Regions from separate parts of the Homo sapiens genome. Here regions 2, 3, 4, 5, 6 and 7 are each linked to region 1. Evidence: promoter capture Hi-C in 16 types of primary human blood cells and fetal thymus (Javierre and others, 2016). All regions are on one chromosome and are shown on one strand. Each heading gives the region's core, a stretch centred on a gene start or on the middle of the fragment in contact. The rest is flanking DNA. Distances are from core to core; before and after follow the strand shown.

The links. Contacts are between HindIII fragments. The CHiCAGO score rates a contact against its expected background, and 5 or more counts as called.
Region 2: a fragment that was not itself captured here is called in contact with the fragment with the promoter of GLCCI1 in region 1 in 4 of 17 cell types (monocytes, total CD4 T cells, neutrophils and 1 more); the score reaches 7.4 in monocytes.
Region 3: a contact is called between a fragment that was not itself captured here and the fragment with the promoter of GLCCI1 in region 1, in 4 of 17 cell types (erythroblasts, non-activated CD4 T cells, monocytes and 1 more). The highest score is 7.6, in erythroblasts.
Region 4: a fragment that was not itself captured here is called in contact with the fragment with the promoter of GLCCI1 in region 1 in 8 of 17 cell types (naive B cells, non-activated CD4 T cells, activated CD4 T cells and 5 more); the score reaches 10.4 in naive B cells.
Region 5: a fragment that was not itself captured here is called in contact with the fragment with the promoter of GLCCI1 in region 1 in 1 of 17 cell types (neutrophils); the score reaches 8.0 in neutrophils.
Region 6: a contact is called between a fragment that was not itself captured here and the fragment with the promoter of GLCCI1 in region 1, in 4 of 17 cell types (neutrophils, naive B cells, monocytes and 1 more). The highest score is 6.6, in neutrophils.
Region 7: a contact is called between a fragment that was not itself captured here and the fragment with the promoter of GLCCI1 in region 1, in 8 of 17 cell types (neutrophils, naive B cells, naive CD8 T cells and 5 more). The highest score is 10.2, in neutrophils.

Annotation. Positions count from the first base shown.
Region 1 is chr7:7,966,694-7,970,882 of GRCh38, reverse strand. It overlaps GLCCI1 (glucocorticoid induced 1), which reads right to left and starts at 2,087. Exons shown (of 8, transcript NM_138426.4): 1 at 1,076-2,087. The coding sequence starts at 1,532. It overlaps GLCCI1-DT (GLCCI1 divergent transcript), which reads left to right and starts at 2,131. Exons shown (of 5, transcript NR_110018.1): 1 at 2,131-2,339. RefSeq lists an enhancer at 625-714 and silencers at 1,195-1,274, 1,365-1,424, 1,505-1,904, 2,115-2,264. The HindIII fragment of the contact is 4,760 bases long and covers 1-3,092 here.
Region 2 is chr7:7,108,627-7,112,815 of GRCh38, reverse strand. LOC105375138 (a long non-coding RNA gene) reads right to left here. Exons shown (of 5, transcript XR_927009.3): 5 at 1,541-3,373. Among named protein-coding and RNA genes, the nearest start is that of MIR3683, 44 kb to the right of the region's middle. The HindIII fragment of the contact is 4,408 bases long and covers 1-4,189 here.
Region 3 is chr7:7,145,904-7,150,092 of GRCh38, reverse strand. No RefSeq gene overlaps it. Among named protein-coding and RNA genes, the nearest start is that of C1GALT1, 35 kb to the left of the region's middle. RefSeq lists a cis regulatory region at 827-1,304. The HindIII fragment of the contact is 650 bases long and covers 1,698-2,347 here.
Region 4 is chr7:7,163,372-7,167,560 of GRCh38, reverse strand. It overlaps a transcript of C1GALT1 not described here. Among named protein-coding and RNA genes, the nearest start is that of C1GALT1, 17 kb to the left of the region's middle. The HindIII fragment of the contact is 190 bases long and covers 1,790-1,979 here.
Region 5 is chr7:7,204,474-7,208,662 of GRCh38, reverse strand. The region is part of intron 1 of C1GALT1 (core 1 synthase, glycoprotein-N-acetylgalactosamine 3-beta-galactosyltransferase 1); the gene reads right to left. Among named protein-coding and RNA genes, the nearest start is that of C1GALT1, 24 kb to the right of the region's middle. The HindIII fragment of the contact is 6,450 bases long and covers 1-4,189 here.
Region 6 is chr7:7,229,432-7,233,620 of GRCh38, reverse strand. The region is part of intron 1 of C1GALT1 (core 1 synthase, glycoprotein-N-acetylgalactosamine 3-beta-galactosyltransferase 1); the gene reads right to left. Among named protein-coding and RNA genes, the nearest start is that of LINC03016, 24 kb to the left of the region's middle. The HindIII fragment of the contact is 2,751 bases long and covers 501-3,251 here.
Region 7 is chr7:7,253,368-7,257,556 of GRCh38, reverse strand. LINC03016 (long intergenic non-protein coding RNA 3016) reads right to left here and starts at 2,403. Exons shown (of 4, transcript NR_108073.1): 1 at 2,379-2,403. The HindIII fragment of the contact is 9,696 bases long and covers 1-4,189 here.

The sequences.
Region 1 (4,189 bases), core at 838-3,337:
AGCAGAGATTTTTCCACCCAGTATGATCTGTTCCCTCCACAATGCAGCAGCAGCATCTGTAGCTCTAGTTCGGTATCTAACAATATTAGCTATTCCACTCTCCCTTATGAGCTTTAAGTCCCTGTTTTGGCTAATCTTCCTTTTCTCCCCCAGGGCTCAACTAAATCATGCACTGTGTCCCTAGACATAAACAAAACCAAAGCAAAACAGAAAACACTAAGGGAAACCCACAGCATCCACCAGCTCACCATTACCTTTGACACCTAACAAAAAAAGAAACTTGAGATCCTTGAACAGCTCAACTGAACTGTTAAGTGTACTTAAAAATGGAAGGAAAAAAACGAACACGTTCCACAAATAAGTTTTCAGAAATTTACCATGAAAATCTCCGGTAGAGCACAAACTGTTTCCAGTGCAGGAGTGCTCTGATGCATGAATATATAAAGGGGAGGGGGAGAAAGAGAGGGAGAGAGAGAGGCGGGGTGGCGGGGGGCTGGGGGAGAGGGAGAGAGGGAGGACTGAGGGAAAAAACCGTATACACTTCAATTGTACATTCAAAACTGTCCCCTCTAGCAGATATCATTACATCCAGCCGATATCCTTACATCGAAACTAATGCCACCAACCCTCTAAAAAATAAAATACTATCCCGGTAGTTACAGGCACGTTAGGAACTTTGCAGAAAAGCACAAAGAGACGGTAGAGATTACAACCGCCACCTTATCCGCTGCTGAAGAGTTTGTGTGCGTGTTAAGTGTTTCGCCCAGCTTCTCCTTCCCCGGCTACAAACGGCAAACACACGAATGAGCTAGCCAGCTCTTAAACTGAAAAACCTCTCGAAGCAGGCGAGTGATGGAAGAGAGACTCTGAGGGGCGGCATGAGGGTCAAATAAAAGTCGCTTTTCAGTTCGCTCCTCCAAGCCCCACAGCGACCGCAGGGGGGTGAGATTCCCAAAGCCACTTTCACACCTTCGATAATGCACTAGCAAAGAGAAGCCCGAAGAGGCTGAAGTTTCCACGGAGGGCACCGTCGGGGAGACGCAGCCCGGGAGGACGGGAGGGTTGGGCTCGCTACCTCTGCACACGGGCGAGCCGGGGCTCCGTCTCTCAGGTGAGCTGCTCCTCCGGTGGCTCTCTGGGGACCGTCTCGGGCGGCCCTTGGCCCGCGGCGCCTGCTCGGCCGGGGCTGCGGCCGCCGGCGGCGTCGGGCTGGACGGGCTGGGGCCGCGGGCCGCGCCGGGCCCCGGGAGGCTGCCCAGCGAGGCGGCGGCAGCGGCGACGGGCGGACGCGTGGGACTGTGCTGGCTGCCCCGCAAGAGCTGGTAGGGCACCGTGGCGCGGATGGGCTGCAGCAGCCGGCCGGCTCCCGCAGCCGGGGCGCAGCCCACGCCGCCGCCGCCGCCCGCACCGTTCCCGCTCCCGGCGGCGGCGACGGCGGGCGGGGACCCCGCGGCGCTGCGCCTCATCCTCTGCGACGGGGGATGAGGGGTCTGAGAGGAACTGGAGGAGGAGGAGGAGGAGGCAGTGGACATGGTGGCTCTGCGGGCCCTGGACGCCGCCGGCCGACACGGAGGCGCGGGGCGGGAGGCGCGCGAGCGTGTGGGAGCCGGCGCGATAGTGCGTGCGAGTGTGTAAGGGGGAGGGGCGGGGGTATCGCTGTGGGGGAGGAGTCTCGGGGCTCCCCCTCCCCAACGCACACCCCCGCCGCCTCGGCGAGGGGGGAGGGGAAGGCTGCGAAAACAAACGTCCAACGGCCGCAACCGCCCGGCTGGGCTCGGTGTGGCGGTCACGGCCGGGGCCGCAAGGAGCCCGGAGCCGCCGCCGCCACCGCTCCAGGCATCGTGCTGACAGGGCAACGGCCCGGATCACGCAGCCCCGAGGGCCGCTCGCAGCCTTCTCCTCAGCCCTCGCAGGGCTGCACGCACGGGAGAACCCGGCAGCTGCAAGGAGGGCCGGGACCCCTGCTTCTGGGGACCAGGGTAGAGAGAAAGGGCCTCGAGGTGCTGGCGCTCCTCGGAGTCCGCGCCACCGCAAACGCCGCCGCCGCCGCCGCCGCTTCTACCCACTCCTCACTCCGAATGGCAACTAATTCGCCCCAGCCGCACCCCGCCCCCGGCACCGCCTCCCAGCGCCCAGGACCCGGCAGCTGCCGCAGCGAGCATTTCCATTGGCTTAGGCGCTCCCCACTAGAACTCGAGTGATTGGTTCTGGAATAGGAGTGAGAGAAGCAGTGTCCAATGACAATGGTGCCTCCTACTTTGAAGGCGGGGCGTGAGGGGTGGCAGCGTGAGGTGGGGGCTGTGCGCGCAGGGAGGAGCGTAAAAGTTGACAGCCTTGAGGTAAGTGCGAGACTAGGAAAGTGGGACTGTGTGTGTCCTGCGCGTGTCCCGACACCCCCAGACACGCAAACGCCCCGCTAGGCAGGTTGCAGGGGCTCCACCCTCCTGGGCCGTCTGTATGACTTGAGACACAGGACACATGAGGCAAACTTTAATTTGCAAGTACACCTGCATCCGGTGGGATGTTTTAGTTAGAACCAGAAGACTGGATCTCTTTTAGTAAGCTGAGTTTTCGTGACCAGTAGCCTTATTAATCAAAAGAACTTCTGGTGATCAGGAGAAATGTCTGGAACCTGCACTGAACAAAGTAAAATACTCTTACAGCCTAACATTTGTAGTTATGCAGTGAAAAGAGATTATCAAGTTCTATGTTCCAAGACAATAACACTGAATAGCAGGGGTCAACAAGGAATTTTATGTCATTACACCATCAGTTAGATATATTAATGAAGGGCGCCCCTGGCTTTTCCGAAGCAGATAGCTTCTTGGGAGGAATAAATACCAGATGTAATGTAATAATCCATTGTGGTAAATTTGTTTTTTATTCTGTAATGAAACTGAAAGCGTACAAAGATTTTGGATGACTATCAAAAACATAAATTTACCCCACAGTAAACCAAGGTTTTAAACCTTAATCGGGAGCAATTAATGTAAGGATCTTCATCAGATAACTTTCATTAATTTTCAAGAGGTTAAAAGAGAAGCACAATGTCAAATTGGTCTGCTCGTGGTGTCTGCCCACACTGACAAGCTTCCTCTGATTTCAGGCACTATATGCAGGGGTCACTTTCACGTACAGGAGCCATCCTTCTTTTCTTCCTTGTGTGTTCAGACGAGAAAGCATACTAGGTTCAGTAAAAAAATTGATGAAACTCAATAAAAATACAAAAATTTCATGCAGTACTTCATCCAAGTAAAACTAGTGATAGTTCCTCAGTTTACCACATATTATAATAAGAGCTAACATTTATTCACCATGTGCCAGCCGCTATTCTAAGAACATTATGTGTGTTAATTCATTCAGTCCTCATATAATCCACAAGGTAGATACTATTATTATCCTTACTGTGGTCTCAGTTGTGGCATAAATAAGCTGTCTTGCCTGAGATCACATAGTTAGTATATGGGGAGCTAAAAATTTCACCCAGACAGACTGGCTCAAGAGTCTGAGGAAGCACTCTGCTATAGTACCTGGCAGCTCAAAGCTGTGGGGTACATAATCTGTAGAGTATTCACAATGGCCCACAAATCTCATCTGTGAGATAAGTTCCCATCAGTTCAAAGGAAATTTTACAAATGAAGACAGACCACTACTTTTTTTTTGTTTTCCAGAATAACATATATTTTAATTATGAATAAAAACTTTACTCTTTCAAATTTTATATAAATGGCCTATCTCATTAATTTAAAAACTGCATTATTTTGTGTGTAAAAAGAATGATAAATGATTTCTTTTCAGTGACTTTTCTCAGAATAGCAAGAACAAAAAATCTGACAGATTAAAAATATGTAAAGCTGGCTAGGTGCGGTGGCTCACGCCTGTAATCCCAGCTCCTTGGGAGGCCAAGGCAGACGGATCACTTGAGCTCAGGATTTTGAAACCAGTCTGGGCAACATGGCAAAACCCCATCTCTACTAAAAATGTAAAAATACTAGCTGGACGCGGTTAGGGAGGCTGAGGTGGGAGGATCACCTGAGCCCAAAAGGCCGGGAGATCAAGGCTGCAGTGAGCCTTGATCACACCACTGCACTCCAGCTTGGGTGACAGAATGACACCCTGTCTCAAAAAAAAAAAAAAAAAAAAAAAAAAGAAGAAGAAGAAGAAAAAAAGTTAAGATTTTTCTTTTACA
Region 2 (4,189 bases), core at 870-3,369, 860 kb after region 1:
CAAACTGAACACACTGGAATAATCAAGAATCAGAACACTACTAGCACCCCAGAAACCCTTTCTCCAGTCACTACTCCCACCTAAGGGTAACTACAACTCACACTTTAGGGTATAGATTAATTTTGAACTTTATAAAAGTGGAATTATAACATGTGTACTCTCTTGGATCTTTCTCCTAACATTATGTTAGCTTCTTTCTCCTAACATTATGTTAATGAAATTCATATTGTTATAGTTATTTGTGAATGCTTCATTCTTGTGGTGGTACAGTATTCCATTGTGTGCATACTATCACAATCTAGTTATGCATCTGTCGATTGGCTTTTTGCTACATTTAACATTCTGATGTATTTCTTTTGGTGAAAGTATGTATGCACTTTTGTTGTGTATAGAGGTAAGAGTAGAGTTGTTGGGTCATAGGGTATGCATATGTAGATACTGCCACACAGTTTTCCCAAGTGATTATATCAATTTACATACCCACCATTAATGTACAAGAATTCCAGTTGTTCAACATCCTCACTATTACTTGAAATCTCTAAACTGGCTGGATGTGGTGGCTTACACCTATAATTCTAGCACTTTGGGAGGCTGCGGTGGGAGAATTGCTTGAGGCCACGAGTTCGAGACCATCCTGGGCAACATAGTGAGACCCTGTTTCTACATTAAAAATGTTTAAAAAGAAAAAGAATTTAAAAATTAGAAAAATCTTTAATCTATTTTTTTTTTTTTTTTTAATACGGAGTCTTACTCTGTCACCCAGGCTGGAGTGCAGTGGCGTGATCTCGGCTCACTGCAAGCTCCGCCTCCCGGGCTCATGCCATTCTCCTGCCTCAGCCTCCCGAGTAGCTGGGACTACAGGTGCCCACCACCACACCCAGCTAATTTTTTGTACTTTTAGTAGAGACGGGGTTTCACCATGTTAGCCAGGATGGTCTCGATCTCCTGACCTCGTGATCCGTCCGCCTTGGCCTCCCAAAGTGCTGGGATTACAGGCGTGAGCCACCATGCCCGGCCTTTAATCTATTTTATTTTTCTGATTCTGATGGCATTGCACTGTGGTTTTAATTTGCATTTCTTTGATTATGACCTAGAGTCCTTGTTTTTTAAAAACATTCATGTACCCTTTATTATTCTATAATGTCTTCTATTATGGATATTTATGTACATGTCTGAGAGCAGAGATTAAATCTTGAATATATTTGTACACTTCAGGTCATCTAACTTTTGTATAGTTAGTAATCGATAAGTATTTATTGAATAAATATGTAATCATTATTACCACTAATTAAGTATTTCTTTTGTGCCAGGTACTATAATTAGCATTTTATATACGTCGTTATATTTGTTTGACACCCATATGCTTTTAGATAGCTAAAAGTATTCCCCTTTTCCAGATATGGAAATTAAAGCTCAGAGAGTTTAAGTGATTAAGTTTTTCTACTAGGTTTTCAACTAGTGAATGAAGGAGCTGAAATTTAAAGTTTTATCTCTTTTACTCCACATTCTATGCTCTTAATTACCATGCAAAAAGGGAGCATGAAAGAAAATTTGAGTTTATTTTTTTTAAGGTGTCTGGTTGCAAGAAACAGAAACCAATTTGAAATGGCCTAAACAAAGAAGGGAGAATTTATTACAAGAATTTAAGGGCCATATGAAGAGGGCAGTATTTGGGGAACAAGAAAGAAGGGGATCAGTTTTGGAAAGCCATTAGGAATCTGGGATATATTCTCTTTCCATCTTTGATCTCTGCATTTCTGCCTTGTGTCCATGTTACTATTCTCCTCTTGCTTTAGCTTTCTCTGCTGATCTGCCCTTATGACAGAATACAGCAACTCCACAGCTCCCAAGCATACAAATTGTACCTAACAGCCATGAAAATAGACTGGCTGGCTTTCCTTTGGTCTGGATTCCACATTCCTGAGAAGAAAAATGATTAGCTCAAACTAGGTCAAATTTTCCAATTAACTATATCCAGATGAGTAGGGAGTTACAGACTACCAACAGGATTCCTAGAAGCCCAAGCTATTACTTGGGGAGCCATTTCCAGAGAAGGGAATGGCTCATGGGTTCAGTAGACCCTTCTAAAAGCATCTATCCCAGAGTTCCCATCCAGGCAATGCAGAGGCCCAGAGCAACGTATAAAGGAGGGTTGTCTTTCTTCCTGTGAACTCTGAAAATTTGGCACAGGTCTCAGTTAATTTAAAAGTTTATTTTGCCAAGATTGAGGATGTCCCCATGACACAGCCTCAGGAGGTCCTGACAACATGTGCTCAAGGTGGCTGGGGTACAGCTTAGTTTTATACATTTTAGGGAGACACGAGACATCAATCAATATATATAAGAAGTACAGTCAATATATGTAAAAAGACAGGTGAGACAGGAAGGGTTGCATTATTTTGAGCTTCTGCTTAGTCCTTCCAAAAGAGGCAATCAGCTATGCATCTCAGTGAGCAGAGGGGTGACTTTGAATAGAATGGGAGGCAGATTTGCCCTAAGCAGTTCCCAGCATAACTTTTTCCCTTTAGCTTAGTGATTTGGGGGCCTCAAGATTTGTTTTCCTTTCACATTTACCCTCTTTTCTTTTTAAAAATATTTTGGAGATGGCATTTAACTAGAAAATTAGTCTCTGGTCTCAGGTTTCACCTGATCTTTCATGGCTAGGATGGTTTATTCCTAGAAGAGCAAATAGTGGAAGAAGAAGGGAGAAAAACAACAAACAAAAGAACACTCCTGGAAAATCAATATAGGCCCCACTACTCTGAAGTCTATAAATCAGTAGCAGGTATGAAAGTGGCTTATGCATGTAAATAGGTGGCTGTTATTTTCTTCTGAACTTTAAGTTGTCTAGTTTCAGTTTGCAGGGCTTTAAGAAAGCACAGCTTGGTTTTCAGTGACTCCCAGTTAGGAAAAATTGAAAAAAAAAAAAAAAAAGAAGGAAAAAAAAGAAAAAAAAAATTGAAAACATTATTTTGAAGACTTGTAGTCAAGAGAAAATTAGAATTTAGCCCAAACTGTAGAAATAATAAAAATTGAAAAACATTAGACAAGACTAGAATCTAACAACAGGTGTACAATTGTTTTTGAAACATAATTTTTCTCTCTCCAGTTTCCCATTTTTGCTAAAGACAAATCATGGTAGGATTGGTTTGCTTTATTATACTTGGCCTAATTACTTATATACAGTGCAAAAAAAATTATTTTTTACATAGGCTTTATATTGGCTTTGATGGAACCTTGTTCCATAGAAGGAATACCAGATAAGATGTTTTTAAAGCAGAGCCCAGCCATGGATTTGTGCCATCAAATACCTGTGAGTTGGGTGAATTTTCTCTCCTCTTGAGGTTCCAAGATAAACCGGGGGCCTCTACGCCTGTTAGAAGTGACATTCTTTACTTACCACAGGTCAGAAACCCTGTACAGGGACTGTGTACACAAAATATGAGGCCAATTTTTTCAAGGGCTTTATTGGCTCCATAAGTCAAGTTTGATTCCTTAAACGAAAGCACACCATTCCAGTCAAAGCCTTGGTAAAATAAGCAGTTTCTCCAATTGTGGTCTGTTATTAATGAAAACAGATTCTTATTGCACTTATGCAAATAACTGTATTGCCATGAGTTAAGAATACTTACAAATAGTTTCCAAATTCTGGAGAAATCAGCTAAAGAGAAACAAATATGCTCCAAACTTTGTTTATGGGAGTATACTAAATTGTTAAAAGCTGCCAATAGCTCAAAAGAAAAGTTTTAAGACTCTGAAAAGCAAAACAAAAGATCAGCAACATTTTAAGCAAAAAGTCAAAAAGATCAGTTCAGTCCATGCAGTTAATTCCTGTTCTGCTTGATACTCATGAATATTTTATAGCTCTCCATGAGTCCTGAAAGTTTTTCCTCTATTCTGATGTCACAATCTCCAAAGTTATCAGAAACCTGCATTCAAGAGCACCTGTTAGAGTTTTGTAGCTGATTATAAAGCCACCTTCTAAAGAGGACCAAAACAAGACAAAAATTGTCCATGGATGACAAAAAGTTTTAGGACAGCCATAGTCAAAAACACAGTTGAAAAGGACATTTGTTACCTCTGCGGCACACAATAATTTTAACATAACAATTATGATTATTACTGATAATGTACACTGAGTTATATAGAATTATAGGAATTTCCCATAATTTTGGAACACATACTAATA
Region 3 (4,189 bases), core at 773-3,272, 820 kb after region 1:
AATCACTTGAACCCGGGAGGCAGAGGTTGCAGTGAGCAGAGATCGTGCCACTGTATTCCAGCTTGGGTGACAGAGCAAGACTCTGTCTCAAAAAATAAAAGTAGAAATTATTGATTCTTTAGTTAGTAAAAAGCTCATTTATCTTGTAGCCTTCAACTAACTTTTGTGTTTAAGAAACCAACATGTAGGCTGGAAGGAGTGGCTCATACCAGTAACCCCAGTCCTTTGGGAGGCTGAGGCAGGAGGATCACTTGAGCCCAGGAGTTCAAGACCAGCCTGGGTAACAAAGTAAGGCCCCATCCCTGCTAAGAAAAAATTAAAATTTTTATTTTAAAATTTAAAATTTAAATTTACAATGCCAATTTAAAATTTAAAATGCCAGTTAAAATAATTTTAAAATATTTAAAAAAGAAGCCAACCTGCTAGATTTGTCACATAAGCCTCCATATACTCCTGTGATATAGCTATATAATTTGATTGATTAAACATGGCTTCCTGATCATCTCATAGGCCCTTGGTCAAAAACAAATCTTCCCTCATTATTATTTATTTAAAAACTGGATTCAATGATTTTATTTTGACTTCTAGCACTGTTTCAATTTCCTCCAGTATTCAAATAACAGGATTAGCAAGGTGGTGACCTGCTACAGAAGGGAGGGGCTGGTGACTGTAAGAGACTAATGGTAGGCATTTGCGCCCATGTGCGCACATACACGCACGCACACACACACACAGTACAGGTATTGAGATAGGATAAAAGAAGGTCTTTGTTCTTTAGAGTTTCTTAATTCCAGAGCCTTTTACCCTCCATGTAGGATAAACTGGCTTTTCTAAGTTCTGGGAGCTTTCTCAAAGGTAGTGGAATTCTGTTTTCGGAGAAACGGGAGAACTTTTTGTGCCCAAGGGTCTAAAGGAGAGGGGGTGGGGTCCTGGGGATTCGCATGAGGCCCAGGAAGTGTCAGGATCTGGGTACAATGAAAAGAACTCTTGTGAGTGAGTATTACTTCATACCCCATGTGATGGCCAGATAAGGAGGCCTACCCAGCCCTGTGTTCCTGAGGCTGCTTGTGGGAGTGGAGAGATGTCACCCCATCAGGCAGGCTGCCATTCTGGTCTCCTTCACCTCCCAGGCATTCCAGGAGGAGAATTCTGAGCAGTTGTATGTTTTCTTGTCAGGTTCTTTAATTCCACTTGTCTTAAGGACCTGTCACACCCTAGCCTACTCACCAGCAAACACACTGGAGACTCATGCTCACCAGAGACTACTGACAGCTGTGGTAATCATGCAATGCAGATCTCTTGAGTACTTAATACAGTCTTTTCTCAGTATTTGAGGGGGATTGGTTCTAGAACCACTGCAGGATACCAAAATTTCTAGATGCTCAAGACCCTTATATAAAATGGCATAGTATTTGCATGTAACCCTCATACATCCTCCTGTATATTTTAAATAATCTCTATATTACTTGTAATACCTAGTGCAATGTAAATGCTATGTAAATAATTATAATACTATATTTACATTATTTTTATTGTACTGTTATTTTGAACTTTTTCCTTAATATTTTTAATCATGGTTGGTAGAATTCATGGATGTGGAACCCACAGATACAGAAGATTAGCTGTATAGGCCAGGCTTTTGATCTGGGGTTAGACCTTTGAAGCAGGAGAACAAAAATTCCTTCCTTTATAAAGCTTAAATTTTGGTGGGTGGGGAGAGTAACACCATAAACAATCACGAGGTCAGATAGTGATAAGTGCAATGGAGAAAAAAAAAAAAGCAGAGAGTGCTGCAAGCAGGAGCTGTAATGTTAAATAGGGTGGTCACTGAGAAATGCACATTTGAAGAAAAACCTAAAAGAGGTTACAAAGAAAAACATGTGACCATCTCAGGGACAAGCATTTATAGCAGAGGGAGTAACAAGTTCAAAGGCCCAGAGGGGCCTATATCCTGTATTTTGGGAGAACAGTGAGATAAGTGAGGCTGAAGATGCATGAAGGAAGAAGAGATTTGAAATAGGTGAAGTACCTGAGAATCATGTAGGGCCTTGTAGGCCTGTGAAAGGACTTCAACTTTGCACTGAGTGAGATGAGGAGACATTGGAGGGTTTTGAGCTGAGGGGTGACATGATCTGACTCTCTTTGTGGTGGGGCAAAATCAGAAGCAATGATATCAATTGGGAGGCTATCGCAAAAGGTAATATAACTTGGACTAGGTTGGCTCCAAAGGAAGGGATGAGAAGTCATTGACTTCTGGATATATTTTGAGGGCACAGTCATCAGCATTTGCTGATAGATCAAATGTGGGGTATATGAGAGCAGGAGGCGTCAAAGATGATTCCAAGCTTTTGACCTACACAACTGGAGAGATTTTATTTATTACTGAGATGGGGGAACTTAGAAAGGAACATATTTCAGGAAAGATTACAAATTTGTTTTAGGCACATTAAGTTGAGATGCCTATTAGACATGCAGTTGAAGATGTCAAGTGGGTAGATGAATTTGTAAATATGGGGTTCACAAGAGAAGCCTATGCTAGAAACATAAACTGAGGAGTCATCAGTGAATAGATGGTATTTAAAGCCATATGTAGTACTAAATCCACATATGGGACTTTGGGGCAGAGTAGAGCACACTGGTACATATCAGACTGAGGATAACAGGGTGAGGGCACTCATCTGACATTAATGCTGCTTCAGTCCAAATACTGTAATGAAATTCGAATACTTCCTATAAGAAATTCTTAATGACAATTGTACTACTCATTAGAATCTCAGTTTTCACCAGGGATGATCCAAATGCCCAAGGGGACTAAAAAATAATACTGAATATGATTAAAGGAGAGGAGATAAACTCTTTGCAATGATAACAGGAGTTTGTGCAGAATCTCAGTGCAGGCTTGATGGAGAATCCAGTAGGTTCTGTGGGCCCCATGTGAACCAGAATGAGGGTGTAAACTGCTGCCCGCAATAGTAATTATCCACGACATAGAACCCATGAGGAACAGTTCTCAGAATACTCACTGCCACAGCCAATCTCCAGGTCCAAAGAAGAGGGAAGTGGTGGTCTATGATATATGTGGTCAACCCAGCCTCTTCCTACTCAAAAGAACCAGCATGATGTACCTCAAAAAGATCTTTCCAACTGGTTCCCACTGATGCCAAGAATACGATTGCTTTGTAAATTTGACCATAAGGTTGAGGAAGATGCTTACAATTGGTTATTAGCATGGACTTAAATGTGTGGTTTGCCTGTCAGTTGTTCTTAGAAAAGCATTTGTAAAATTGTAAACTAGCTACAGGCCAGGCCAATGAGGAAAGTCATTGAGGTACCCTACCTGCATCAGTAAGAGAGCAATGTAATTTTATTAAGGTGATTTGGGCTTATGTTATCAAGCTACAAGACATTTTTAATCAAAGGAACTTTTTAAGCAAACAGCCTTCTTTTGGATAATGGTAATACGTCCTGGGTTCAGAGTCACTGATTGCTTTCATATATGTAGCTAAAACATTTCCTATAAGAGTTGATAATGTAGTTGATACAAAAGAAAAATGAAAGACTTTTGATAAAGAAAGATAAAAATGTGTATGATTTGTCATTGTTGCCATTGAGCCTACCATTCAGGCAGGTAAAGCAGCTCAGATAGGCAGCATCTTTAATGGCCCACAATGCAAACTGCAAAACCTTCTCAGCAGAAAACAATTAGCTCATGTCAAAAGAAAAAAGTACAATCAATTTAGATAAAGATCTTAACTGAGATATTTATTGGTTTAACTGGCTTCATTTGCAATTCTAGAATAGGACGACACTTCGTTCCATAAAATAAGTGTTCCACTGAGATGTGCAGAAGGGTTTGGTTTTACACACAGAAAGGGATGAAGAAAACAGAAACAAAGAACAAAATGCAGTCATTTTAAAGTTACTTTTATTATAAGACAGGAATAGGGAGACAGAAAAATAGAAATATAACTGACTGACATCAGCTTACTGCAGGCGACTTTTTTTTTTTTTGAGACCAAGGCTTTGTCACCCAGGCTGGAGAGCAGTGGCACGATCTTGGCTCACTGCAAGCTCTGCCTCCTGGGTTCACGCCATTCTGCTGCCTCAGCCTCCCAAGTAGCTGGGACTACAGGCGCCTGCCAGCACGCCTAGCTAATTTTTTTTGTATTTTTAGTAGAGATGGAGTTTC
Region 4 (4,189 bases), core at 635-3,134, 800 kb after region 1:
CATGAAATGGCATCTTGATTGGACATATTAAAGATGTATTACTCTTAACAGTATTCTTTAGAAAATAAACATGGGAGATTTATCATTGTTTATATATTTTATAAATTTACATGTAGTTTAAATATGTGATGTGTAATGTGCAGTATAACATTTTTAATACATAATGTATAACATTCTTAATACACTATTTTATCCAGGAAAGCAAATGTTTCATAAAGAGTAAGTCAGTTAATCTCAATGAATGCTGTTCTCCCAATATTATGTCTAGTTTGGATTGCCATTCGGGGCAAACTCCTGAGAAACAGGACCTGTTGCTCTCAATTTATCTGTACACTGCATAAGCAATTTCATTGCTGTTTAGCCAGTAGGGATCTGAAAAAGGAGCAGAGATAGAATCTGAAGGAGTATAGGTAAAGAATATGCAGCTGAACCACTGGTCTTCCTCCCTGGCCCAGAGTGACTTTTCCAGACCCTGGGGTAATACAGAGGAGCATTTATGTGGAATACTCTGAGCCTGGTGTCCAATCAGGGCATGCCCTCCTCAATTCAAATCATAAAATTTGTCATGGCTTAGCACAGTTTAGTGGAAAGATCTTGGTCTTTGAAGTAAGATTGATGTGTTTGAATTCCAGCTGTAAATAAAAAGGACTAACATGATTAGTTAAAGTGGAGAAAGCTCTAAGAAGGAAGAACTCAGTCTAGGACTCCTTGTATAACTACTGCGGCATGCTTACTATTGTATTACACAGTGTGCTAAGCACTTGCCTTACTGATTTAATGTTTACACCAACCCTCTGTGGTAGGCATTAGCAACTCCATTTAACTGATTTTTAAAAAATGTAGTCTTAGAGATTAAGCAATTTGTAAATAGTATAACACGGATTTCAACCCGGTTGTTTTTAACTGCTTTATTGAGGTATAATTGACATTCAATAAGTATACATAAAGTGCATAATTTGATGTTGTGACATATGTATACACCCATGAAACTATCACCGCAGTCAAGATAATGAATGTATCTATCACCTCCAAAAGTTTCCTCCTGCCACTTCCCACCCTGCCCCATCTCCAAGCAACCACTGATCTGCTTTCTGTCAATAGAGATTAGTTTGCATTTTCTAGAGTTATAAAAATGATATCATACATTATGTGCTTTTTCATATCTGGTTTTATTCACTGGCATTGTTACTTTGAAATTAAACCATATTGTTATGTTTATCAATAGTTTATTACTTTTTATTGTTCAGTAATATTCTATTATAAGAATATACCACAATTTTTGTATTCATTCAAATACTGAAGGACATTTAATCCAATTGTTTCTCACCCTAAACCTGTGCTACACTCTCTTCCCAGTTCCATCACTTATTGTGTGGGCTTAGGAAACCTAATTATTCTCCCTGAGTCTTGGTTTTTCTCATGATAAAATGGCAGTAATATACGTTTTTTTCACATGGTTGTTATCAGTAAATGAGAGAACGTGAACACGCCTGGTACAGGTGTCCCTTATCTCAAGTGCCTGGGACCAGAAGTATTTTGGACTTCAGAGTTTTTGAACTTTTGGAATATTTGCATATACATAATGAAATATCTCTGGGATGGGACCCAAGTCTAAACATGAAATGTATGTTTCATATGCACCTTATACACATAACCTGATGGTAATTTTATACAATATTTTCAAAAATTTTGTGCATGAAATGAGTTTTTCTATTTTGACTGTGACTCATCACATAACATTAGGTGTGGAATTTTCCACTCGTAGCATCATGTTGATGCTCAAAAAGCTTTGGATTTTAGACCATTTCAGATTTTGGGTTTTTGGATTACAGATGCTCAACTGGTACCATGTGATCATAAATTGGTGCTTACAACTATTCATTTTTTTTTCTCCTGAAAGGGAACATATCGGAGAAGGAAATGAGAAAAGATATAGCAGTACATGCCTTTCTGGACTCTTTCTTCCTGTCTTGAAAGCTTTGAATTCTTGCATCTAGAGCTTCCTACACTGAAACGTCCTCTTAATCTTTCTCACTTTGATTTCTCCTACACCTGTCTCATCTGCACCCCATGGATATGATGTTTGTCTTTTCTCTTTAATCCAAATATGGACACAATTTTTTTCTTATTCCCTTAGCGTAACTGAAATAGAGTGATGCATTCACAAAAATTAAAGGATAAATTAAATGGGTATAATTATGTAAAAGGAAGCAATGGAAAAATAGTCAAGGCTCCTAGATGCGTGCTTTATTCCACATAATCCCACCACAGTGAGTAAAGGGGCTTTATTTAGTTCCATATCTGCTTGCACAAGGATCACCATCTTCTAACACAGATGGGTGGGCACAACCTGGCCTGAGCTCCTTCCTAACCTGCCTTCTGTCTTTCAGTTATCTGGCCATCTTCTCTTCCTGGCTACTGTGGTTTCTAGTTCTGTTCACATAAAAATGCCAGACCAACCTTTTATTCTAAATTCAAACTTCTCAGGCACTGTTTGGTCCTTCTCTGAGGCTTTCAAATCTAAAAGAAACACATAAATGAATAAAGTTGACAGGCAAGGTTAATCTTTCCTAGGGTTTCTAGGGCATTTTACTCACCCTACACATCTTAAATAATACAAAATAATATTTACATGCAATCAAAGGCAGCAAACCCAAGGTGAACACTGTAATGGTTTGCCCTGTTCCTCCTTCAGGACAGAAAGATTTATTTCCACAACTATTGGGAGTGCTGCCAGCAGATGACCTTCAGCTTACAGCCCTCTCAGGGAACTGCCTCAGGTGCAAACAACTTAAAGCCATGCCCCCTCAGGCACCCACATCCAATGACTGATCAACATAGGGGTATTAAAAATAGAGCTTTCCTTCCCTGACCTGTGATACTCTTTAGGGCCATTCCACCTTCAGAGTTCCTCGTCGGGTTGACTGAGGACTTTAAGACTATATCACAGCTCAACTTTTCCCACTGTCCAATCCTGCTTCTGTCTCTTTCCATGCACAGGTGCTGATCTTAAAAGTCTTCCCTAATAAACTTTCTACATGCTGATCTCCATTTCAGAGTCTGTTTTCTGGAAAACCCAGCCTATGGCAAAATGTAAAGCAAGAGGAGAGCTGTATCCCAATCCTCCTGAAATCCAAGCTCCTTTTTAGGTATCTCAGATCAATAGGTTATAGAATTTGACTTACTTCTGCTTACTTAGAGTTAGCTCTTCATACATCATAGACCCGTTAACATTAATGTTCCACATGAGAAATGAAGAAAGGTGTAAGGAAGGGATCCAGTTTCAGCTTTCTACATATGGCTAGCCAGTTTCCCCAGCACCATTTATTAAATAGGGAATCCTTTCCCCATTGCTTGTTTTTCTCAGGTTTGTCAAAGATCAGATAGTTGTAGATATACGGTGTTATTTCTGAGGGCTCTGTTCTGTTCCATTGATCTATATCTCTGTTCTGGTACCAGTACCATGCTGTTTTGGTCACTGTAGCCTTGTAGTATAGTTTGAAGTCAGGTAGCATGATGCCTCCAGCTTAGTTCTTTTGGCTTAGGATTGACTTGGCGATGCGGGCTCTTTTTTGGTTCCATATGAACTTTAAAGTAGTTTTTTCCAATTCTGTGAAGAAAGTCATTGGTAGCTTGATGGGGATGGCATTGAATCTATAAATTACCTTGGGCAGTATGGCCATTTTCACGATATTGATTCTTCCTACCCATGAGCATGGAATGTTCTTCCATTTGTTTGTATCCTCTTTTATTTCCTTGAGCAGTGGTTTGTAGTTCTCCTTGAGGAGGTCCTTCACGTCCCTTGTAAGTTGGATTCCTAGGTATTTTATTCTCTTTGAAGCAATTGTGAATGAGAGTTCACTCATGGTTTGGCTCTCTGTTTGTCTGTTATTGGTGTATAAGAATGCTTGTGATTTTTGTACATGGATTTTGTATCCTGAGACTTTGCTGAAGTTGCTTATCAGCTTAAGGAGATTTTGGGCTGAGACAATGGGGTTTTCTAGATATACAATCATGTCATCTGCAAACAGGAACAATTTGACTTCCCCTTTTCCTAATTGAATACCCTTTATTTCCTTCTCCTGCCTAATTGCCCTGGCCAGAACTTCCAACAATATGTTGAATAGGAGTGGTGAGAGAGGGCATCCCTGTCTTGTGCCAGTTTTCAAAGGGAATGCTTCCAGTTTTT
Region 5 (4,189 bases), core at 856-3,355, 760 kb after region 1:
ATTGTGGTTGTACCTCCACCCACTGATGCAAGCCCCTCCCCCTCTAGCTGAGGTAACTGCCAAGGAACTTAAAGGCTGGTGCTCTCCCCAACCCTCTTCATTTTTGTCCTTTTCCTTTTTTTTTAGGAGCCAAACATCAAGGACTGAGGCATTCAAAAGAAACTGCATATACAAGGGAAAATAGAAATTCACTATAGTAGTCCCCCTTTATCCACAGGGAATATGTTCCCAGAACCCCAGTGGATGCCTGAAACCGCAGATAGTACTGAACCTTACACGTACTATGTTTTTTCCTAAATATACACACCTATGAGAAAGTCTAATTTGTAAATTAGGCACAATAAGATATTAAATAATAAAAAAAATCATGACAATATGCCATCATCACTATTCTTGTGCCCTAGGGTCATTACGTAAAATAAAGGTTAACTTTATTGAACCTTTATTTTAACTTTATTGAACCTTAACTTTATTGAACTGAACACAAGCACTGCAATACCACGAGAGTCAACCTAATAATCAAGACAGCTGCTAAGTGACTATCGGGTGAGTAACATATACAACGTGCATATGATGGACAAAGGGATAATTCATGTCCCAAGCAGGTTGAAACAAGATTTCATCATGCTACTCAGAAAGCATGTAATTTAAAACTTATGAACTGTTTATTTCTGAAGTTTTCCATTTAATATTTTTGGACCACTGTTGACCATAACTGAAACTTCAGAAAGTGGAAGCAGGGATAAAGAGGGACTATTGTATTACATATCCAGCTTAAGGCACAGGCACAGAAAAGACCTGAAAATACCTTAATTGTACAAAATCTCAGACTGATCTTTGGCAAAGAGACTGCAACAATTAAAAAAAAAAAACAAAGAAAAAAAGCACACCCTGAGGAAGGGATACTACCTAATTTCCAGAATTACCACATTAAATTAAATTTAAGCATCCAGTTTTCAACAAAAAAGTCACAAGGTATACAAAGAAACAGAAAAATATGGCCCACTAAAAGAAAGAAAATAAACTAACAAATTGTCCCTGAAAAAGACCCGATGGTAGATCTGTTAAACAAAGACTATAAAACAACTTTCTGAAAAATGCTCAAAGAACTAAAGGAAAATGTGGACCAAGTTAAGAAAATGATGTATGAACAAAATGGAAATATGAATAAAGACATGGAAAATCTGAGCCAGGCACAGTGTGCACAACTACAGTCCCAGCTACCCAGGAAGCTGGGATGGGAGGATTGCTTGAGCCCAGGAGTTTGAGTCCAGCCTGAGCAACAGAGTGAGACCTCAAAAAAAAAAAAAAAAAAAAAAAAAAAAAAGCAACAGAGTAAGAGAAACACAGAGAATGAAAACCTAAAAGGATACACACAAAAATTCTGAAGCCGAAAAGTACAATAAATGAAATTAAAAATCCACTAGAGAGACTGAAAGGCAGATCTAGACAGGAAGAAAAAAAGAATCAGTGAACTTGAAGAGAGAACAATTGAAATTATTGAGTCTTAGGAAAACAAAGAAAAACGGCTGAAGAAATGTGAAGGTCCTAAGGGACTTGTGACACCATCAAGTAGGCCTACATAAACACTGTCATAGTCCCAAGTAATGGAGAGAGAAAAAATGTTTGAAGAAACAATGGTTGAAAATCCCAATTTTAATAAAAGGCATGAATATAAACATCTAAGAAGCTGAAAAAGACTCCAAGTAGAATGACTTCAAGGAGACTCACAGCAAAATATATTATAATGAAACCACTAAGAGGCAAAGAGAAAATCCTGAAAGCTGAAAGAAGTAACTAATCACACATAAGCAGTCCTCAATAAAATTATCAGATTTCTCATCAGACACTTTGGAGGACAGAAGGCATAGGCCAATATAATTAAGATAATAAAACAAAAAAAAAAATGCCAACCATGAATCCTACATCCACAAAAACCGTCCTTTAAAACAAAAGCTGAGACATTCTCTTCTTTTTTTTTTTTTTGAGACGGAGTTTTGCTCTTGTTGCCCAGGCTGGAGTGCAATGGCGCGATCGTGGCTAACTGCAACCACCGCCTCCTGGTTTCAAGCGATTCTCCTGCCTCAGCCTCCCGAGTAGCTGGGATTACAGCAGTATGCCACCATACCCAGCTAATTTTTTTGTATTTTTAGCAGAGACAGGGTTTCTCCATGTTGGTCAGGCTGGTCTTGACTCCCGACTTCAGGTGATTCGCCTGCCTCAGCCTCTCAAGACATTCTTAAATAAAACATTCTCAAGTAAAAAGCTGAGAGAGTTTATTACCAAAAGACCTGCTCTGTAGAGCAAAATTCTCCCAGTCGAAACAAAAGAATACTAGATAATAACTTGTAGCTATATGAAAAAATAAAAATTGCAGTGACAGTAAATACATAGGCAATTATAAATTCTAGTATTATTGTAACTTTGGAACTCCACATTTTTTTACATAACTTGAGACTAACACATTAAAAAATTAGTTTATATTTTTTGACACACAATGTATAAAGATATAATTCTGCAACATCAATAAGTGGTGGGGATGGAATTGTAAAGAAGCATAATTTTTTTATGTTACTGAAATTAAGCTGGTATAAATATTGTAATTTTTAAATATTAAGTGTAATCATCACAGTAACCAAAGAAAATAGCTTATAGAATACACACAAAAAGAAATGAGACAGTAATGCAGGAAATAAGGACAAAATAGCTACAAAGCACATAGAAAAAAATGGCAAAATGACAGAAGTTCCTCCTTATGATTTTAAATGTAAATGGTTAAACTCTAATCAAAAGGCAGAGATTTGCAGAATTGATAAACATCATCCAACTACATGCTGTCTACTAAAGACTCACTTTAGGCCCAAAGACACAAACAGGGTGAAAGTGAAGGCATGAAAAAAAGATATTCCATTCATACAAGAACAAAGAGAACAGAAGTGCCATACTAATATCAGACAAAATTGACTTTAAATCAAAAAAGGTTACAAAAGACAAGAAGGACATTATATATTAATAAAAGATTCAATACAGCAAAAGATATAACAATTATAGTTGACCCTTGAACAACATGGGTCTGAACAGTATAGGTCCATCTATATGTGCATCTTCTTCTACCTCTGCCACCCAGAAGACATCAAGACCAATCCTTCCTTTTCCTCAACCCAATGTGAAGACGACAAGAATGAAGGCATTCATGATTATCTACTTCCACTTAATGAACTGTAAATAAATTCTCTCCTTTATAATTTTCTTAATACATTATTTTCTGTAGTTTATCATAAGAACACAGTAAATAATACATATATAAAATGTGTTAATCAACTGCTTACATTATCAGTAAGACTTCCAGCGGCAGTCTATTAGTAAACTTTAGAAAAGTCAAAAGTTACATGCAGATTTCCGTGGGGGGGATAGCATCCCTAACCTCTGTGTTGTTCAGGGGTCAGCTATATAAACACTTACATACCTAATAACAGACCACTGAGATGAACGAACCAAAGGTGAAAAAAATGAAAGGAGAAATAGTTCTATGATAACAGTTGGGAGACTTCAGTACCCCACTCTCAATAATTAACAGAACCACACAGAATGGAGAACTTGAACAACACAATAAACCAACTTGGTCTAACAGACATAGACTGAACATTCTGCCTAACAATAACCAAATACATATTGTTCTCAAGTACACAGGGGATATTTCCCAGGATACACCATGTTAGGCCACAAATAAAGTGTTAATAGATTTTAAAAGACAGATAGCATACAAAGTATCTTCTCTGAGCACAATACAATGAAGTTAGAAATCAATAAAAGAAGGAAAATGGAAAATTCACAAATGCGTGGAAATCAAACAACCAATGGGGCGAAGAATCAATCACAAGAGTAATTAGAAAATACTTAGAGACAAACGAAAAACACAACATAAGAAAATTTATGGGACACAGATAAAGCAGTGCTAAGGAAGACATTTATAGTTATTAACACACGAAACAAAAAGAAAGTTCTCAATTCAAGAACCTATTTTTACAACTTTAAAAACCAGAAAAAGAACAAACTAAACCCAAAGCTAGCAGAAGAAATAAAACAATAAAGAACAGAGATAAACAAAATGGGAAACAGGAAAGCAACATGGAAAAATCAATGAAACTAAAAGTTGGTTCTTCAAAAAGGAACAAAACTGATAAATCTC
Region 6 (4,189 bases), core at 627-3,126, 740 kb after region 1:
AATATGTCTCACAAAACCGTACCTAGCCCTTTATAGAAAAAGTTTGCTGGCTAGGCACAGTGGCTCATGCCTGTAATCCCAGCACTCTGGGAGGCCAAGGCGGGTGGATCACTTGAAGTCAGGAGCTTGAGACCAGCCTGGACAACATGGTAAAAAATTAGCTGGGCATGGTGGCATATGCCTGCAGTCACAGCTACTTGGGAAGAATAAGGTGAATACTTGGGAAGAATTGGTAAGAATAAGGTGGGAGAATCACTTGAACTCAGAAGGCGGAGGTTGCAGTGTGCCAAGACTGCACCACTCAACTCCAGCCTGGGCAAAAGAGTGAAACTATCTCAGAAAAAAAAAAGAAAAAGTTTGCTGACCTCTGCTCTATACTGCAAGATCTAGATTTTGGATGGAATCTATAATATTAACGAGATTAAGTAGGGTACCTGGGACACAGATGCCTGTTGAACTGCCCCACAACCAAACATTGACATAAACGCCCTTTTTAAGCTTTTGTTAACAATTACTATATGGTGAAGTTATAAACTTCTATTAAATTCCTTAAAAGATTGGTCTTAACTCTAGTTTCCTATTCCTCAAGATAATTAAAAAAATAAGTTTACTAAGCATTTATTATATACCAGAAGCTGTCCATACATTATTTCATTTTAAATAAAATTTAATTTCAATGTCCTTTTTCATTCTCACTAAACCCGTCTGCAGATGAGGAAAGAGAAATTTTAAAAAGGTAATTTTAAACAGGTAATTAATTCATATAGGCTGACACAATCAGAAGGAGCCACAGTTTGAATGTAGGTCTGTGTGCTTAAAAAGCCCATGCCCGGCTGGGCGTGGTGGCTCACGCCTGTAATCCTAGCACTTTGGGAGGCCAAGGCGGGTGGATCACCTGAGGTCAGGAGTTCAAGACCAGCCTGGCCAACATGGTGAAACCCCATCTCTACTAAAAATACAAAAATTAGCCAGGCGTTGTGGTACGTGCCTGTAATCCCAGCTACCTGGGAGACTGAGGCAAAAGAATCACTAGAACCTGGGAGGCAGGACTGCAGGACCGAGATCATGCCACTGTATTACAGCCTGGGTGACAGAGCAAGACTCTGTCTCAAAAAAAAAAAAACAAAAAAAAAAAACCCACGCCCTTTCCATTACATTTCTCAAACTCTTCACCTAATCACCACTAACAGCAGAGGGCAATGGGCAGTGAAAGTAGAGGTCTGGGAAATATAACCCTAAAAATCAAAATTGCTTTGAAATAGTTTGTGAAAGCAAAAGTACAAACCAACAATCACCACTACAATAATAAAAACAAAACAACTTCATGTATTTCTGGAATGGCTGACTAGGTTCTTTTAGTACAACCAAGTGCAATCAGAAAAACTGAACAAAATGTAAAAAAATATAAATATGTGTTTGAAGACACTGGTAAGATATCAAGGCAGTGAGAATTAGTAGGGCCAAAATCTGGAAGAAGGAAGGAAAGAGGCAGACCAGACATCTGGCACTGCTCTATCCTCAAGACAATGACTGATTCTGAAAGAGAAAACAGCAAGGGCAATAAAGCTAAGCAAAAATTAATGTCCAAAGTCTGCTTAGGAGAAGAGGTCCTGAAAAACACCTATGCTCTTATCAAGGACTCTGAAAGGCTACAATCTGAGAATAAGAACAAAACAAAAATAGACCAATCTTTACAACGGCTGAAGTCTACGTTAGAGTCATCTCAGCCACTGACTGGATGATCCGCCCTAGCCTAACTGTAAAAATATTCTCCTGGAGAAATATAAAATCATGAAGAACCTCAAATTATCATGACGACTTTTTTTTTTTTGGTATACAACATGGACAAAATTTTGATACACAATGTCCAAAACAACCAGGCATCAAGATGAAAATTACGGCTAAACACAAAAAAGTAGACAATAGAAACAGAGCCAAAAGACTCAAATAAGATTTTCATATTTTTAGCTTAGAAATAACTATTCTTAATAAAGTCAAGAAATTAAATGGCAAGATTAAGAAATTAGGCATAGAATAGTCACAGCTGAAGAAAAAAATTAATAACCTAAAAAGCTAGGTCAGAAGAAAATACGCAGAATGAAGTATGGAAAAACAAATGGATTGAAAAAGAATTGAGCAAAAAAACAGAATAAAGTGAAAGGGTCTAATGTAAGTGTTAACTGGAACCTTTGAGGGAAGAGACATAACTCAGGAGAAGTGGTATTTAAAGAAATAATGACTGAATATTTTCCGAAACTGACACAGTACCAACCCTCACATTAAAAATCTACAAAACCCAATGAAGATTACAAAGAAAAAGAAAATGTTACCTAAGTACATCAGTCAAACTACTGAAAACCAAGGACAGAAAAAAAAACTTCAAAGGTGTAATAAGATTGACAGCTGACTTTTTAGCAGCAACAACAGAATCAAGACTGCAGTGAACTATTTTTAAAGTGCTAAAAGAACAGAACTACCAACCTAGCATTCTGTATCCAGCAAAAATGTCCTTCAAGAATGAGCCTTAAAAACATGTTCAGAAAAACAAAACCTAAGTGAATTTATCACTAACAGTTCTATTTCTAATTCTTCAGGCAGAAGGAAAAGAATTTCAGATAAAAATTCAGAGATGTAGGAAGGAAGGGAGAGTCATAAAAAGGGTATGTATGTAAGTAAATCCAAATAAATATTGGCTATAATAAAACATTTTTTGAAAGTCTCACAAGATATTAGTATTATTACCATTAAAACAAATTACAAAACTGGCATCAAAAAGTATAAGGAGGATCCATAGAGTTTAAGAGCTCTAAAGTCATTTCACTGTCCAGGAGTTGTTTAAAAAAAAAAAACTGATTAATAATAGCCTTTAAAAGACCAAGGATGTCTAATATAATCTTTAAACAAACAAACAGTAAAACAATATAATTAAATTCAAATACAAAAAAATGAAATGGGAAAATACCCCAAATCAAGGCAATGTTAAAAAAAAAAAAAAAAAGGGAATATAGAATAGATGAGACAAATAGAAAATAAATAGTAAGGTGGTTGATTTAGAACCAAACATATCAATGATTATATTAAAAGCAAATAGACTAAAAACTACAATTAAAAAATAAAGATTGCCAGCCAGACTCGAGAAAAATAAACTCATCTACATGCAGCTTACAAGAGACACATATTAAATAGATTTATAAAGTTGAAAGCAAAATAATAGAAAAATATACCATACAAACAGTAATTAAAGGAAAGCTTATTGATACCACAAAAAAAACTAGTAGTTACATGGCTTGTTCTCTGTGACATTCATTAAGCTCTACATTTATGATTTTACATACTTTTCTGTATTAACATTTATTTCAGTAAAAAGTGTATACAAAAACCCATTCATGTGTCTTTATCCCATTAAGTACATACTTAATATATTCATATTTGATATAAAAATATCCCAAAATCTACAAGTAAAATTGACATGCCATGACAACACACCATGCTTATGCTGCATTATATATCTTATATTTCAGGCTCTCTCCTGAATTGTAATTCCAGTTTGGGAAGAAAAACCCTAAGAGGAAGAGGAGAGGTGAAGGAACAGCACAGTATAAGCAAAGCTGCCCAGTATCTTGAGATGTAAATTAACCATCTGAAACTATCAGATACATGTTTACACCTTTTGCTCTATCCTGACTGTACCTTCAAGTTCAGAAAGGTAGGCCTTCATGGATGATGAGTACATAGCCCCACTCAACGATCCTTCTCTCTACACCCAATCAAATTTGCCACAGGAAAACCAGAAACAAGTTTACCATGTCTTTCTGCTGTTTTCTCTGATGAGGGGGTCTCAAATTCTGCCTCCCTACTGCCCCCTTTCCCTCATTCAGGTTGGCCGTTAGTGTAATCTTTATATCCAAAAGATACAATAAAACATATCCCTCCTGTCTTAAGTGATTGTTCTGAAATTCTAAATATCTCGATTGTCTGAGGACCAGTTCATTAGACCTTGCTCTAACCAGAAATCTTGGTTTGAAATTTCATTCAAACAGCCAGAGAGAACTGATTAGTCAAGTATCTGTTCGATATTATACAAGTCCTTCCTTTAGCAGTATACATGATCAAGACAATCTACAATAGAGGTATGTGATATGAAAGTACCATGAATTGAAAACATGAAGCCAAGAGAAGTAAATGAAAG
Region 7 (4,189 bases), core at 1,016-3,515, 710 kb after region 1:
GAATTTTGGGAGGAGGGTGTCCAGAGTGTTAGGTGAGTGGAAACCTTCCTCATTTCTTTTAGTGCAGATGTCAATTTGGCTCCAATTCTAAAGAAGTGCTGATAACTGAAGGTTTCTAGTGGGGTAGCTGAACTACCTTTGGTGACCTGGAAACAGGTAGCAAAGAGGGCAGAGCAGTAGCCTGGTAAGGGTGGAGAGGATTCCACTGGAGCTTGGCCGCTCTCATAAAGTACTATCTGGACCCTTTCTTTCATTATTCTGGAACGGTCAGGAAAGTCTGGTCTCTACTGTGGGCAACAAAGAGGAAAATAAGTCTTTTCCCCAGGGTCAAACAAGATGACAGAAGTCACCAGCAGAAGATGGTAGTGCCCACTGAAGCAGCAAGTTAACTGGAGTCACTGTCCCTAGGAGGCAGCCCAGGAATGGGCAAGAGGGCAACCCATTTCTGGGTACACATTACACTGTACCCTGGGAACCGCTGAGGATCACGAGGGGCATATTTTAAGGGTGGCTATTTCTGCCAGTAATGCTGGAAAGCATTCATGGCATAATGCCATGATATGTAGCAGAATCCACCACAGTGTCTGTACGAAATGTTTAAGTAGGTAATTCATTCTGTCAGTTATTAAGTGTTATGAATCTGAAATCATTAAAACAATGTACTGCACAAGAAATAGGCAGATAAGCAGACCAGAATACAGTTTATACACAAACCGATAATGAAATATCATGGGGTAATGGTGATTTAAAATAAATGTTGAAAGAAAGGATCGTCAAATAAAGTGTATTACAACAAACGGGTAGCCATTTTCCTACCTCACTCCATATAAGAAAATAAATTCTGGAGGGATCAAAAATATAAACACAAAAAATGAAACTATGAAAGTAAGAGGAAAACATAAGCATATTATAAATAAACCTTGGTGTGAGCAAGACACACAATTCAATAGCCCTAAGAAAAGATTAATTGGTTTGTGTGGGGAAAAAACAAGTACGAAATAATCATAACAGTTCTAATACATATAAATAAACCAATATTCAGAGAGTTTATAAAAATTTTTAAAAACCCTAGTAATTCAATATTAAAAACTGGCGAAGATGAAATGCAAATTACCAATGTATAAAAAAAACTCAAACCTTAAGTACAAATCAACAATTATCAGATATTAATGCAGTGATAAAACTAGTAAGTTCAATAATCAAAAACTTTGGTAAAAGGGGCAGGAAAATATACTCGCAAATGTTGAGTAGTAGTATAAGGTAGTACAGTACAGTTTAAGAAGGCAATTTGGCAGTATCTATGAATATTTAAATGCATACATTCTTTATCTCAGCAATTACTTGCTAGGAACTTATCCTATGGCTGTACCCACACAATCATTTCAAGGATGTTCAGTGCAGCAATAATTATAATAAAAGTATCCAACTCAATTATCAATAGAGGAATGGCTTAAAAATTGTGGCACATCCATACAGAGATCTAGTTAACTATTAAAAAGAATTATCTCTAAGTTATTAAACAGTAAGCAGAAAAGGCAAGGAGCAGAATGATGTGTTTAGTTTGGAAATGAGTACAGTTCTGTTATTTTCTGTTTATGGCTGGACAAAGGGACTGCTGGGTGGGGCTGTAGCAGATTATAGCTTTTCATTTTATATTCATTCTCTTTTACCAAGCACATACATTACCTTTGTATAAAAACTTAAAAATATTTTTAACAGGAAAGACATTATCCTCAAACCATGCAGTAATGCCCAACTTGAATATATTTATTCAAGATCTAAGGAAGGAAATTTCAGGGGTACTGGAGTTATTGAAAAATAAACCTAAAAACATGCCAATGAAAGAAAATGGCTGTGGGTCTCAGAAAAAAATGGTACACTGACTGCACCTGGGAAAAAACTGGAACTCTCGAAGAATTGAAGTTAACTGGGCTTTGGCAAATTTGTGAATATATCGACTCTTTCACATGAAGTTGTACCTGAGCCTTATTCTTTAAATCCAGTTCAAATGCCACAATTTCTTTGAAACTTCTCAGATCCCTAAACACTTAATATACAGTCCTCTTATAGTTCTTTGTAAATACCTCTATCATAGTCCTGAGGAGGCTATTTGTTCACTGGCATGTCAGCCCCCAACCCAAATGTGAGATCCTTCAGGCAAGCCTTAACCACAGGTTTCGCCCTCCTTTCTCTTCTATAGCTGACAAACCATGAGCCTGGTGAAAGTTTGTTGAATGGGTGATTTAATGACTGGAGGAAAAAAAAGAGCTGTTGCTTTTTTTGGATTTTAGGATAGAAAACTTGTAACTTGACATGTAAATTAATTATTAACTAACTCGACACAGTTTTCTCCTTACCAGTGTTAGGCACGACCCTACCTTTGTTTTGTCATCAGAGATCACTTGTTGCTTCAGTAACCAAGAGCACTGAGCTACACCAAGTGACAGTGCTTTGGAATGTCTAATGGTCACTGTAGAGAAAAGGAACCTGAGCTCTCCTCCCTAATAGCAAATACACACAATCTTCTGCCCACACTTGAGGTTTTGTTCTTTTTCTGGACTGTATTCTCCAACGTAAATGCGAGGTTTTTTGCCTGATGGTGTATGATACGTGGAGTTCAAATCAAGATTTTCTCAAGCAGAAAACCTGTTTAGGAGTCCCTCCATATCTATGAGAAAAGCATTTTGTTTAGAGGTCTCCATAAAAATGAAACAGAAGAAAGTAGGGGGCATATGGAGAACTTTTCTTCATAGTGAAAGGATGCTCACCATTTACTTCCTTTTAATTGATATATAATGTACATATTTATGGGGGAGAGAGTAATATTTTGATACATACAATGTATAGTAATCGTATAGTAACCTTTTTAAACTTTTTTGTTGTGGAGATGGAGTCTTGTTGCCCAGGGTGGACTTGAACTCCTGAGCTTCAGCCTTCTGGGTAGCTAGGACAACAGGCATGCAGCACTACACATGGCTTTGTTATTTAAAAAAAAAAATCCTATTATGTCCCAGGCACAATTGGAAACAAGACAGATTTGATCTCTGATAACAGTGCCTGGCAACTATTAGGATCGTTCCTAGAATCTATTTGCAAATGGTGGGAAAAGGCAGGGACCAAATATGTGAGTTCTATCTAGCAGTACAATGGGTCAAAGAAAAACAGAAAGAATGAATAAGATCTAGTATTTGATAGCACAATAGGGTGACTATAGTCAATAATTTAATTGTGTATTTAAAAATAACTAAAAGAGTATAATTGGATTGTTTGTAACACAAAGGATAAATATTTGAGGGGATGGATACTCCATTTTCTATGATGTGATTATTACTTGTTGCATGGCTGTATCAAAGTGTCTCATGAACCCTATAAATACGTACACCTACTATGTACCCACAAAAAATTTTGTTAAAGTACATAGCTCAGGTTGTTCAGGGAAGATAAGAAATTGCATTTAGTACAAAGACCACTAACCTGGGAGTCAGGAAAATTGAGTTCTGTTGCCACTTCTGGCATTATTTGTGTCATTTTTCTAAACTTTAACATCTCTAGATCTGTTTCTGAATCTTTCAAACGAGGCGTTAGAACATCTTTAAGCTCTAGAAATCAGTAGTCCTATATTTTTATGTGGGAAAGGGCTCAGTGTCTTCTATTTCCATGAATAAGAGAATAAGACTTAAGCCAGAACAGATCTAAGAAAGATATGAAAATAATCTGACACAAGGATTTGAGAATAAATAGTAACTTCCGAGTACTCTTCACCCTTGGAGTAGAAGGAGAGAAGGATGCTAAGACGGGTCCACATGAGGCTGCTGGTCCTTTGTATGGGTCAACTATTTACCACTCTTGAAGATGGATACCTCCTTCATCTACCCTCATTATGAACTAGTTCAGCAGTCTTTATACCCTTGATTGAAGAAAGTAATTTCTTATGGCAAGATAAAAGAATCCAAATCAGCTTTGAGATCTTTCCAGCTCATGTGTGTACCTGCTTACCTCTACTGCTGCTTAAGAATGTCTGTGGACATTCTTCACCACTGGTTGTAAAAACCCTAGGGAGCCAGGGCCAACAGCTTTTTTTTCCCACTTTACTTCTCTAAACTGTGACAGTATAAACATGATTTTTTAAAAGTTCAAAAAGGAAAACAGTGAATTATTGAATTTCTTTCCAATCCTAGTACCCTTCCCC